Regions from separate parts of the Homo sapiens genome. Here region 2 is linked to region 1. The links are contacts of gene promoters, found by promoter capture Hi-C in blood cells and fetal thymus (Javierre and others, 2016). All regions are on one chromosome and are shown on one strand. Each heading gives the region's core, a stretch centred on a gene start or on the middle of the fragment in contact. The rest is flanking DNA. Distances are from core to core; before and after follow the strand shown.

What was found. Contacts are between HindIII fragments. The CHiCAGO score rates a contact against its expected background, and 5 or more counts as called.
Region 2: a contact is called between a fragment that was not itself captured here and the fragment with the promoter of RPAP3 in region 1, in 1 of 17 cell types (monocytes). The highest score is 7.0, in monocytes.

Annotation. Positions count from the first base shown.
Region 1 is chr12:47,703,664-47,709,720 of GRCh38, reverse strand. RPAP3 (RNA polymerase II associated protein 3) reads left to right here and starts at 3,691. Exons shown (of 17, transcript NM_024604.3): 1 at 3,691-3,769. RPAP3-DT (RPAP3 divergent transcript) reads right to left here and starts at 3,633. Exons shown (of 4, transcript NR_183480.1): 1 at 3,558-3,633. RefSeq lists enhancers at 3,380-3,529, 3,461-3,755, 3,476-3,975, 3,976-4,477 and silencers at 3,670-3,749, 3,820-4,109, 4,140-4,229. The HindIII fragment of the contact is 881 bases long and covers 3,510-4,390 here.
Region 2 is chr12:47,812,232-47,818,288 of GRCh38, reverse strand. The region is part of intron 1 of HDAC7 (histone deacetylase 7); the gene reads left to right. Among named protein-coding and RNA genes, the nearest start is that of HDAC7, 4.6 kb to the left of the region's middle. RefSeq lists enhancers at 175-835, 1,082-1,191, 4,358-4,437, 4,448-4,497 and a silencer at 5,078-5,267. The HindIII fragment of the contact is 3,821 bases long and covers 898-4,718 here.

The sequences.
Region 1 (6,057 bases), core at 2,442-4,941:
TGTATATGGCCTCCCTCCAATGTCTGTCTCCCTGCCTTTTCCCTAGAGCAGGGCTGGCAGTGATACTTTTGCTCTAGAGTCTTTTCAGAATGGCTTGAAGAATGTGGTATCTGGGTGAAGTCTCTGTTGACTCACTAAGTCTCTCTAGCCAAGAGGGGAAGAGAATTCTGTAATATGAAGAGTGGAAGGATCATTGCATACAGATAGTGAGGCGGCCGGTGGGGGGGTGGTAAATGGAGATTGGTGGTCCCCATCCCCAATAACCAGTCCCCTTTATCAAATACACAGGAGTATAAGGACATTTCTGGATGTAGCTTCTGTGGTTGCAGAGGTTGACCACACTGGGGGAAGAGGAGATGCTAAAGAGATACAGAAAAAGACTTCTTATCTGTAAACAGATTACTCAAGCCACAATGCTAGAAAACGGTCAGGTATGAAGAGATACCTCGGGCAAGTTTATAGCCTGCAGATAGATGAAACAGGGCCTTGTCCTGCCCTTTCCCAGAGATGTTCACAGTCAATAGGCAAGACAGTGAGTCAGTAGAGCACAGGGGTAACAGGTACAGGCTCTGAAGTCATGTTGCCCAGGTACCTAGCCAGGCTCTGTTGCTTACTGGCCATATGAGCAAATTTCTTAATTATTCAGATTGTTTCCTCACCAGTCAAATGGGGATAATATTACCATTGTTGTGAGATAAGGAATGTGAAATAACATGCTAGTCTTTCTTATAGTAATTATTGTCTCACTTATTATACAGATTTAATTTTATACTGGGAGAGGCAATTTACTATCCCTGCTATCAGCCTTAACCTTCACCTACTGGTGCCCAGTACTTGTGCTCTTCATAGGCCTCTTCAGAGGTCTTCCAGGTAGTCCAGTAGGAGACAGAAAGACAGAAATGCAGGAGAGAGTACTGTATTCCAGGGTCTGGGCCTTAGCTTTGCAGGAGAGAAAGGTAAGAACTAACATTTGTTAAGCTGTTACCATGTCCCAAGCTGTGCTAAGTAGTCCTTTTATATTCATTTTCTCACTCTGGTGGGTATTTTTATCTTCACCACTTTAATTTTACCTAGACAACTGAGGATCAGATTAAGCCACATTCTTAGTCAGTAGCAGAATCAGGATTGCAAAATTCAACCCTTTTCCTCATGTTGTAGTGAGCCTGGATTTCTAGTAGTATCTACTCACTTATTCATTCATTATTTTTTAAAGAATATTTATTAAGACCCCTGACAGAGGCTGCTGGTTACCCCTCAGTATCTGCTCTCCTCTTCTTCCTTATTCACTGAAGTCTCAGTTTTTAGGTACACAAATGACTGTCAAGAGTACAGACTCTTGACCTCCCTTGCAACCAGAAGTAGGCGTGTGTCTATGTCCTCACCAATGGCATGCAAAAGGAAGTATTCTTAATGGGCAGGGGGTACCGTTATTCCCACTCTTGCCCTTTTCTGCCGACTGGATTTCAGACAAGATCGTGGGAGCTTGAGCAGCCAGCTTGAACCATGAATGAAAGCCATATGCTGAAGATCACAGAGCAGCCAGGAAGGAGCCTGGGTCTCACACCGAAACTGTCACACTAATCCTGGATTGCTTATATTCAGTTTTACATGAAAGAAAAATAATCTTTCATGTTTAAGCCACTCTTATTTTGGGCTTTCTGTCACATGCAACCAAACTTAACATAGTATCTCCATAACAGGAAGTCCCAAGGTTCATTTTCTTCCTAAAGTTACTTAGCTAATACTTCCTTTCTTAAGATTTACATTAACTGTCAGACTCTTTAACTATTTGAAAGAGCCCAATAATTGTTTTGGATATTAAAATTAATAGCATTTACAATCATTAATTGCAGCATTTTATTGTTGCAATAATAAACACTCCTGTTTATTTCCACTGACCATTACAACTGCAACACATAAAACACATAAAGAGGTTTGTCTCTTTGAAAATAACTCTTCAGGTATTAATGATAAGTTCAATTGAGATGACTGGAGTAAATGAATAAAAGAGACTTAAAAGAAAGGCATTATTTACACATTTTGTTGAAATCCATTTAAAGATAACTGCCAATAGAAGTGGGGAGGTCTGCAAGGAATCTAGGAAAGAACTTAAGGTGGCCTAGGTCTGAGCTCACAGGAGAGAAGGCTGCCATTGCAGGCACAGGTTTTGTGGGACAGCAGGAGCCTCAGAATTAGGTGATGATGACCATCAAAACCATTTGATTAACTTTTCTCACTTTGACTCTATATTCACTAAGCTACTTCTGATTATTGTATGGTTTGAGAGAGAAAAAGAGAGAGAAAAGCAGGGTCACCTAAGGGTCTATGAGGTTTTACTAGAGCAGCCAGCTAGCCCCCTTATCTCTCTTCTCAATCAACTCTGTCAGAATTAATAAAACAAATGTGGTTGCTTTTGTTAAAAACACCAGTAAATCAATATTTGCTTTTAAATACTTAATAAAAAAATTATTAAAAGTCAGTTCTCTATCTCCCTAATACAACCAAAGAATCATTTCATTAGTAAATATTTTGACGTACACTTAATGATTTGACTACTATGATTTTAAAATATAAAGATACCAATAATTAAGCAATGGGAAGGATGTGCTAATGATATGACCTTGTAAGACAGCACTCCAGCCTAGTTCTTCATTGATCAGCGCCTGGGTTAGTGGCTTCCAGCTTCAAATGCACAGCCGTATCCTATGCTTTAAAAAATTCTGATTGGCTTCACTCAAGACTAGTTACATCAGAATCTCTGGGATAGGACACAGAAATCAGTATACACACACACACACACACACACACACACACACACACACACACAGACACAAACACACACACACACACACGTGTATATGTATATACTCCCTAAGTGATTCCAAAGCTCAGTCAAGACTGAGAACCACCGATCTGGATTTTGAGGATATTTGAGGTTACAGTCCTGTTTTAAATGGAAAGTTTCATTTGTTTGTGTTTGCTTCTGTGGACTTCTGCAATTATTTTTGTTTTGCTTTCGTTTAAGAGTTGTCATTGCAACGAAGACTCCCTCACACGGGAAGCAGAAGCAAAAAGTGTTAAAAGTTTCGTTCTTTTTTCTCTGTAAGCCAGAGCATATCTAAAGACAGATTGTAACACTGGCACATGTCAAAGAAAGACTCAGAGATAGATTCACTTAGAAAAGGGGTTTACTTGCAAAAGATGCGAGGAGTTAGACGGAAGGACTAGTTTGCCAACCAGTACTTAAAGGGAAAAAAAAATCCCCTAAAATTACCAGGATTACCGGTTGACAGTAGTCTGTTCATGGTGGAAAAACAGTAACTTTCTCACATGGTTATTATACTCACAAAGGTCAGACAAATTAATGTCACAAAGGTCAGAGATTAGCAAGGTAAATATTAGGGATTAAACTGTTTAAGGGAGTCCAGGGAAATATTCAAGGTTTTATTGTTTTGGAGATCAGAAAATCAGGATGATCCTGCAGTTTTTGGGTTATCTCCTTTTAAGCTTAGTCATATTGGAAGCAGGCAGAAGGCTCAGATATTGCTTTTACATACCCTCAAGCCACCAAGCTGGTTCCATCCTGAGAAGGAAGTCACGAAGCTGACTTCTGCGCGCGCTCAAGCCCAGGCTAAAGGGGGCGGGGCGAGGCCGCGGGGGCTTGTGGGGAAGCGCAGGAGGCGGGGCTTTGCGTGAGTCACTGCCGGGCTCGGCGTGAGTCGCTGCGGGGCTGACGGGGTGGCAGTGCGGCGGGTTACGGCCTGGTCAGGTGAGCGGGCGTTGCGGTTCTCGCTGCCCGGAGCAGCGTAGGAGATCCTTGGGGTGGCCGGTGGGAGGAGGGGTAGCGGTTATGGGTACCGGTGAGGCGGGGCGGGCCGGGGCTGGCGGTGGAGGCGCGCGTTGAGGCGGCGCGTCGGTGTCCAGGGCAGCGGCGTCTCGGGTCGCGCGTTCCCGGAGGGGCTCGCCCCCGCAACCCGGGCCTGCGCGCTCTGCTTTGCAGGCGGACCCTCCACCCTGCTGCGATTTTGCAGTGCTCGGGAAGGCAGAGCCGCCCTCCCGCAAAGACCGAGGTGGGGCCCGCCCCCTTGCGGCGTGGGTGTGCGGTGTTCGCCGGGACAGCGGGTGTGAAAGTGATACCCCCAGCGCTGGAAGTTTTTGATTGCTGGCTCGCACCCCCGCCCCATCGCAGGGTCCCTGGGAGAGTTTTTGGGCCTGCTCGAGCAGCAGCGGTGATGGGTGAAATGGAAAAGCATCTAACCCCCGTCAGCATCTCACTGACTTGTTGCGCTTTTATTCATTTATTTGAGTTCCCAACAAAGCGTTGTACTAGTTTTGTTTTTGAATGAGTTGTGCATATATGGTCAAACATGGACACTGCCTGAAAGAAGCTTAAACCTAATTTAGTTGTTGAGGCTACGAGTCAGAAGACCTATCTGCATCTGCAACTGTCCCTTCTTAGTGAGGTATTTTTCACTGTCCTAAACAAATGTTTTTCTAATTCCGTCTCTCTCCCTCCCACCTTACTTCTCTTCCCTCCGCCTAAAGCTTTGACTCTTCTCCTACCTTTTTGGAGATTTTGCCCCATCACTCATCCTTTTTCCTGTATCTTTTACTTTGTTGCTTTTTCCCCAGACTATGCTCAAGAACAAGTCTTATATTATCAAAGGCAAATGTACTGTAATCTCCATATAATCTCATTTACGTAACTCATTTCATTCCCCCCCCTCCTTTTTTTTTGGTCCCAGGCTGGAGTGTAGTGGGCCCGTCACCGCCCACTGTGGCCTCGATCTCCCGATCCTCCCACCTCAGCCTCCTGAGTAGCTGGAACTATAGGCACCCTCCACCACGCCTGGCTAATTTTTGTGTTTTTAGTAGAGATGGGGATCTCGAAGTGTTGCCCAGGCTGATCTAGGAACTCCTGAGCCCAAGCTATTCCCCCTGCCCCCCAACCTCTGCCTCCCAAAGTGCCGGGATTACAGGCATGAGCCACCTGCGGTTGGCCTTCCACCCTTTAAAAAAAATCTTATTGAAACTCTAAATAGAGGTCAGGCGCGGTGGCTCATGCCTATAATCCCAGCACTTTGGGAGGCCGAGGTGGGCGGATCACTTGAGGTCAGGAGTTCGAGACCAGCCTGGCCAACGTGGTGAAACCCCGTCTCTACTAAAAAAAAAAAAAATACAAAAATTAGCCGGGCGTGGTGGCCTGCACCTGTAATCCCAGCTGCTCGGGAGGCTGAGGCAGGAGAATCACTTGAACCTAGGAGGTGGAGGTTGCAGTGAGCTGAGTTTGCGCCACTGCACTCCAGCCTGGGCGACAGAGCAAGACTCTGTCTCAAGAAAAAAAACAAAAACTCTGAATAGTCTTTTTATGACTAAATATAATGCACTTTCTTTCCCTCTGTGGCATTTGGCACTGCTAACCTCTCACTTTCTTCAACTCATTTTTTGTCATCTGTAACAGTACACTCTAGGTTTTTCTCCCAACTGTCTAGGTGCTACTGCCTACTTTTTTCTTCCTTGGCATCTCTTTCTCCGTTTAGTGTTCTCCAGGTTCACCCCATTCCCCAGTTGTCACAATGGTTAAACATGGCCACATCCTTGATTCTAGCTTCTACCTTTCTGCTAGTGACACCGGAATTTATCTCTATTCCTACATAGCTACCTATGGGGTATCTCTTCGCCCCATTAGCACTCAAATTCAGCATATCCCAAACAAATAATCTGACTTTCCGTTTGCCCTCCAACTTTGATGCCTCTTTTCCTTTTAACATTGTATTTCTTGACTCAAAATGGCATCAGTAATCTTACCGGGGTCCCAAGCCAGAAATCTAGGCCACTGTTTGAGTCTTTCTCTGTTCTCCAACACCTCAGTCTAGTCAGTCATCAAGTTCTTTTTATTTTACTACCTTGATATTTTCACATAACTTTCAGAATATAGGTTAGACCTCATGGCCTGCCATTTCAAGTCTGTCCCATGTCCACCTCTTTAATTTTCTTTTCCTTCATTCTCCCTCATAATTCCTCACTCTGCCTGCCCACTCCTCCCTGTTAGTCACT
Region 2 (6,057 bases), core at 1,559-4,058, 110 kb before region 1:
GCAGGGCCAGGCTCAGAGGCAAGCTCAGAGCTGCCTCCTGATGTTGCACCTGGAATGGTCCTGGTGCAGTGTTCTCCAGAGGCCTCTGTGTCCCTTATTCGGCGGGTGTCTCTGTGGCCACCGGGTCTTACAGTGGGTTTTGGGGCAGGGAAGTTTGCATGTCTAAGCTGTTCACTCCACTTTGACACTGAAGTTCAGTTTCCCCATCAGTAAAATGGGGAGAAAATTCCAAGCACACTTCTCAGAGCAGAGCAGAAGAGGTTGACTATGGAGAGGAGAATGAAGGTACTGTGCTATTATCCACCCCCTCCAGTTTGCTTAGGGATAATGGACCTCAGCTTTAGTCCTTGGTGGCCTCTTGGCATGGAAGCTGGAACTTTCTCAATTCTGATATAAAACCCTTGAGCAAGAGAGAAACTCATGTGTGATGGGGTAGGGAGTGGGGACCCTCTGGTAGCTGTGGGCAAGCATGCCCAAGGACTTGGAAGACAGAAGCCTGTGGAACCCCATCTCCTCTTTGCCTTCTTTCTCCTGGCCTTTCATTAAGGGCTGGTAATTTTGAAGTCGGCAGGGGCCTGAGAGAAGGTGAGCTAATGCAAGGCCCAGGGTCACACAGCCAGGGAATGGCAGGCGGAGGGGGCCAGAACCAGGCCTTCTCACTCTGCCAGTGCCCATTCTGCTGGCCCACCCTCCACAGCTTGGCTCTCCCTGGCCTGCCCTCAGTTAGACTTCGGACTGAGGCCTCCAGTGGGGTGTGGGGTATTGCTGGAAGCAGGGCCTGAATAAAGTCTGGGGCTAGCGGGAGGGCATCTGTCCTCCCGGAGGCTCCCAGGACTGTGCATTTGTGTGTGTTGGATTTGTTCACTAGATGGGGCACTTCCTTTGGGGCAGGAAGCTTTGATTTCCTGTGGTGATGGTGAGGAGGGGTTGGTAAGGATTAGGAGTGGGGGGCTCAGCTCTGGGCCATCCTCGATGTTGTTGTTTGGAACCACGGAGGGGCAGAGTTTCTGCTTAAGACTGCTTCTCCCAGCTCTGGGGAGGCAGGAAGGAGAGCCTTGGTGAGGAGGCCCAGGCCAAGGCTGGAGAAGGAGGCTGTGAGAGCAGTGAGCTGGGGGTGGGCAACACAGCAGGAAGCCCGGTCAGCAGGTGACCCTGCCGGGTATTGTGTTTCCTTGTAATATTTTCCCCCTGTTTCTGTGGTAACCTTCCCTGGAGGCCCCAGGCCTTAGGGCTACAGGAAGGTGCCCCCAGACAGCCCTTTCCTTAGAGGCCTGAGTATTAGGAGGAGTCCCCAGATCTAGCCACCTCCCTAACCCTTTTGGCTCCCTAGGATCAGGGGCCTGGGAATCTAGGCGAGTGGCCTGAGTGAGCATGGACTCGCGGGCTGGGGGAAGGCCCTTTGGCGTCTTCTGGGGGGAAGGGAGAGGGAAAGAGGGGAGCTGGACGCCCGGAAGGGCCCTGAGCAACTTGAGTCGCTGGCCTAGCCTCTTGTTTCCTCCCAACCCATCCCCACTGCCCTCCTCCAGTCTCCCTCCTCCTACAAGGGAGAGGTGGGTAGCATGCTGCCTGGGGCAAGGGGCAGGGGTGGGGGTGGCAGAGGTGGGAGGGATGTTTTCATCAGCAGAGCATAGCTCCTTTGGTCCTGGACCAGTTCCCAGAGGCAAAATAAATTCAGGACAGCGTCTGTTTAGTGTGGGTCTGCATGAGATGTGTGTGAGCACACACTGGGTGCGTGGTGGGTATCTGTGTGTGTACCCCTCCCCCCAGACCCTGTGTATGCTGATGTGGTGGTTCCGGGCAATTTGTGATCTATGTGGTGGTTCTGTGTTGGGTGTTTTGGGAATATGCACACATAAAAGACAGATGTGCATCATCTGTATGGTGCACACCTTTTCAGGTTATGGCCCTGTGTGGGGTAAACATGTCCATATGTATGGACATGTTTTTTGGGGGTATATATCTGGGCAGGAGTGGCTTTTTAATAGAAGTCCAGATGCTGGCTTGTAAAACACCATCTCATTTGGGATTCTCAAATGCGGGTTCCTGGACCATTTGCTTCAGAGTCACCTGGGGAATGTGTTAAAGATAAAGATCCTGGGCCGGGCGCGGTGACTTACGCCTGTAATCCCAGCACTTTGGGAGGCCGAGGCAGGTGGATCACCTGAGGTCAGGAGTTCAAGACCAGCCTGGCCAATGCGGCGAAACCCTGTCTCTACTAAAAATACAAAAAATTAGCCAGGTGTGGCGTGCGCGCCTGTAATCCCAGCTACTCGGGAGGCTGAGGCAGGAGAATTGCTTAAACCCGGGAGGCAGAGGTTGCGGTGAGCCAAGATCACGCCATTGCACTCCAGCCTGGGTGACAGCAAGACTCTGTAAAAAAAAAAAAAAAAAAAAATCCTGGCTGGACGCGGTGGCTTTGGGAGGCTGAAACAGGCAGATCACTTGAAGGCAGGAGTTCGAGACGAGCCTGGCTAACAGGGCAAAACCCCATCTCTACTAAAAATACAAATTTAGCCAGGCATGGTGGCGCAGGCCTGTAGTCCCAGCTATTTGGGAGGCTGAGGCAGAAGAATTGCTTGAGCCCAGGAGGTGGAGGTTGCAGTGAGCCGAGATTGCGCCACCTCACTCCAGCCTGGGCAATAGAGTGAGACTGTCTCAAAATTAAAAACATTCAGATCATCAGGCCCATTCCAGATTGACTAGTCAGAATCTGAGGGGTGGGGCCTGGGAATCCAGATTTTAACAGGTGCTTCAGGTGATCCTGGGGCAAGGCTGTGTTTGAGGACCACTGCCCTGGGTCAACCTCTTCATTTTTTCTTTTGAGGAAATAGACCCACAGAAGGTATGTAGTTTCTCTAAGGTGACAGGGCCATTAAGAGGAAGAACCAAGAGAAAACTCAAGGCTTCTAAGACCTGTCCAGGACTTTGTGCTCACCCATGTACCCCCTGTGTGTGTGTGTGCATGTGTGCTCATAACTACACTTTGTGATGACGTGGACCCGATTGGGCTGGTGCTAATTGGGGCTGATCTTTCCTCTGGGGTCCTGGCTTTCTTGTTTTCTGACCTTGTTCTTCTTGCTACATTCTGCTGCCTCCTTTTTGGAGAAATCCTGGAACTGTTGAGTGTCATCCCTAAAGGTCAATGTTGGCAACCAGGGAACCATGTTGCTGAGCCAGTCACTCAGCAATTCATCCATTCACTGGATCCTAGCTGAGCCTTGCAATGTTCTAGGCACTGGGTACAGATATGCAGTGAACACACAGGCACAACATCTGACCTCAGGGAACTTCCACTCTCGTGGAGAAGACAAACAGAACAAGTAGGCAAGTAAAGGAATGAGTATGTGTGACTAGTTACACACTGTGATAAGCCCTAAGAAGGAAATGAACTGGGCATGGCAATAAAGAATAACAAGGTGGGACTTCCTTTGATAGGGTGGCCAGGGGAGGACTGCCTAAGAAGGTGACATTGATGCCGTCTCCCACCTCCCCAGGTTGGAAGTGAGCCATCAGAGCCTCTGGAGCCGTGCTTGTGAACTCCCTGGATGCAGGTGGAGGCCCTGGGCTGACCAATGGCTAAGGGTTGGAGCTGAATTGCCAGCCTCTCACTTGGCATGGAAGATGGCAGTCTCCTCCCCTTAAGCAGCCCCAAAGGTTGGCAGAGGGGAGAGCAGAAGGGGGAGCTGCACAAGGCCAAGATCAAAGCCACTCCCTTGCTTGGGGAGCACCCTTTTTCTTCCATGGGGCTGAGTCCAGGGCCCTGTGGCCATACTGAATGTTGAGAAGGAGGCAGCATCTCCCCAGGAGCTCTCCTGTTTCACCTTCCTCCCACCTCCTTCCCTTCTCCGCCATCTCCCCAGTTGGGGAACTACTGTGCCAAGTCCCTTCCCTCTGGTCTAGCCTGCTGCCTCTGTGGCCACTTTACTTTACTTGGCTCAGGAATCACCAAAGAGAGGGGGTCAAGGCCTAGAGGGGACCTGGGCCCTGGAAGAGAGGACAGAACCAGAAAGGAAGGCTGGGGTTGGGACCAGAGAGGACAGGGCTCAAGGGAGGATGGAGGCTGGGACAGGAGAGGCACACGGGAAAAACCTGAGCCCAGATGGCCCTTTGGCTGGGCTCTCCAGAGTCTCTCCTGGGCCCTTGGAATCTGCTGCCCAAACTGGGGGAGACTCTGAGACCAGAGGGCCAGATGGGGCTGATTCAAGACACGGGCTCTACATCAGCTGGGAGGAAATGCCCCTGTCTGGTCCACCTGCAGCTCTACGCTTCACCCCTCTCAGGAGGTTAACTTTCACATCAGCAACTTGGGTGTCAGGTTCCGGCTCTAGGCCAGCAGGCCTCAGCCCCTCTCACCTCCAACCTCTTCTCCCAGGAAGGTTTTTCTGGGGACCCAGAGCTTCAGGCTGCAGGAAGGTGTTGCCTGGCCCTTGCCTTAGATTATTGAGTGTCAAAGGAGCCCTGACTCCAGGTCCGCTTTTCCCCCTGCACACTGCCAAGGCTGCCTTCCACCCTGGGCCTCTCTGGAGGCTGCTCAGTGCTCTTCCCGACTCCCAGGCCTTCCCGCCCAAGCTCCACAGCCCCCACAGCAGGATGGGGAGGGGACTTCTCCTCGTCAGGAAGGCCCTGGGCTAAGCTCACCATCCCCACCCTGTCTCCGCACCACTTCCTTTTTCCTCCATCTTGCCTGCAGGGATTGTAAACCCTGGTGGTCAGAAGCTTTGGGCCTATAGGGTCAGCCTCTCACCCTGGGGATCCGTAGGGGAACTCCAATCCCCTTCAGTTCAGCTTCCTCCCTGCAGGACCCATTCCAAGGAGCCTAGCTCTGGCTCCTGAGGTGACCCCAGCCCAGAAGTCCCATTCCCCTCTACCCCAACCCCCAGAATGGCAGGAGGAGCAGGGCAGTCTGGGAGTGACAGGTTCGGAAAGAGTCTGGGGTGGGGGAATTCGGCGATTGGGCTGTAACCGTCTTGTTTTGCTTGCCCCACAAACCTGCACGTCCGGGACGTCCGCTGCGCCCTCCCAGGCGCGTTCAGGTTATAGAACTGCTCTCAGAATGACAGGCTGGTGGCACCCGGCTGGGGCGGGGGGTGGGGAGGTGAAGGGGGGAGCCCCAGGCAAGGGGGAGCTGGAGGGTTAAAAATAGCAGCAGCCTTGTTTCGGTTAGCAAATGTGGAGGCGGGGAGCTGGAGGCGGGGCGGGCGGCGGACGATGTTTGCCCGCAGCGCAGGGCTGTGCTTCCCCTGGGTCCCGGGAGTGAGTCACGGCGGAGACGCTGAGGAGGTGCTGGCGCAGCACCCCACCCCCACCGGGCGAGGGGCTGAGCGCAGGCCTCGCCCCCCAGATTCCAGCGCTGAAGGAGGTGTGACTCTCCCTTCCAGGCAGCCGGGGCCGCCTTGAGAGTGAGCCAGGGGCATCGTGTGATAATAGGGAAGAAATGTGCCATTCTGACGCCAGAGATCTGGGTTTGAATCTTAGTCGAAAGGTGTGGGATCTTGAGTAAGGATGCTGATGGCTCTGAGACTCGATTTCCTAGTTTCAAGTGGGGCTTTTCTCTGTGCCCCACTTAGTGCTTAAAGCACTCTACAGATGTTAATTATCGCCTTAGACCCTACTGTATATATGGCAAAGCCTGGCAGGAGAGCTTCCTGTAAGGACGCAGAGGGAGGAATGGGATGGCCTTGGCTGAGTCTCGGTTTCTCCTGCAAGTGTGATTATGGGCACATTTTGCTCTGTGCCTCCACTTCTTCATCTGTAATGTGAAAATAATTACAGTTTCAACTTTATGGAGTTGCTATGAAGATTAAAGGAGATAATGTAAATAAAGTTAGCTCTGTGCCTGGTATGAAGTCAGGGCTCACTGAATATTCATCATCATTATTAATGTTATTGTTCATATTTTTTGAAGGTCAGGGATAGGGAATGTTGCAGACACGAAGAACAGAAACTGGGCCTAGCCCCAGTTCACAGAAAAAACCAGGCCAAATCCCTGTTCCAGATTCCTCCACCCATCGCGGCCTGGAACAGCCAGAGAGCTGTAGCCAGAAGTCATAGGGTGGA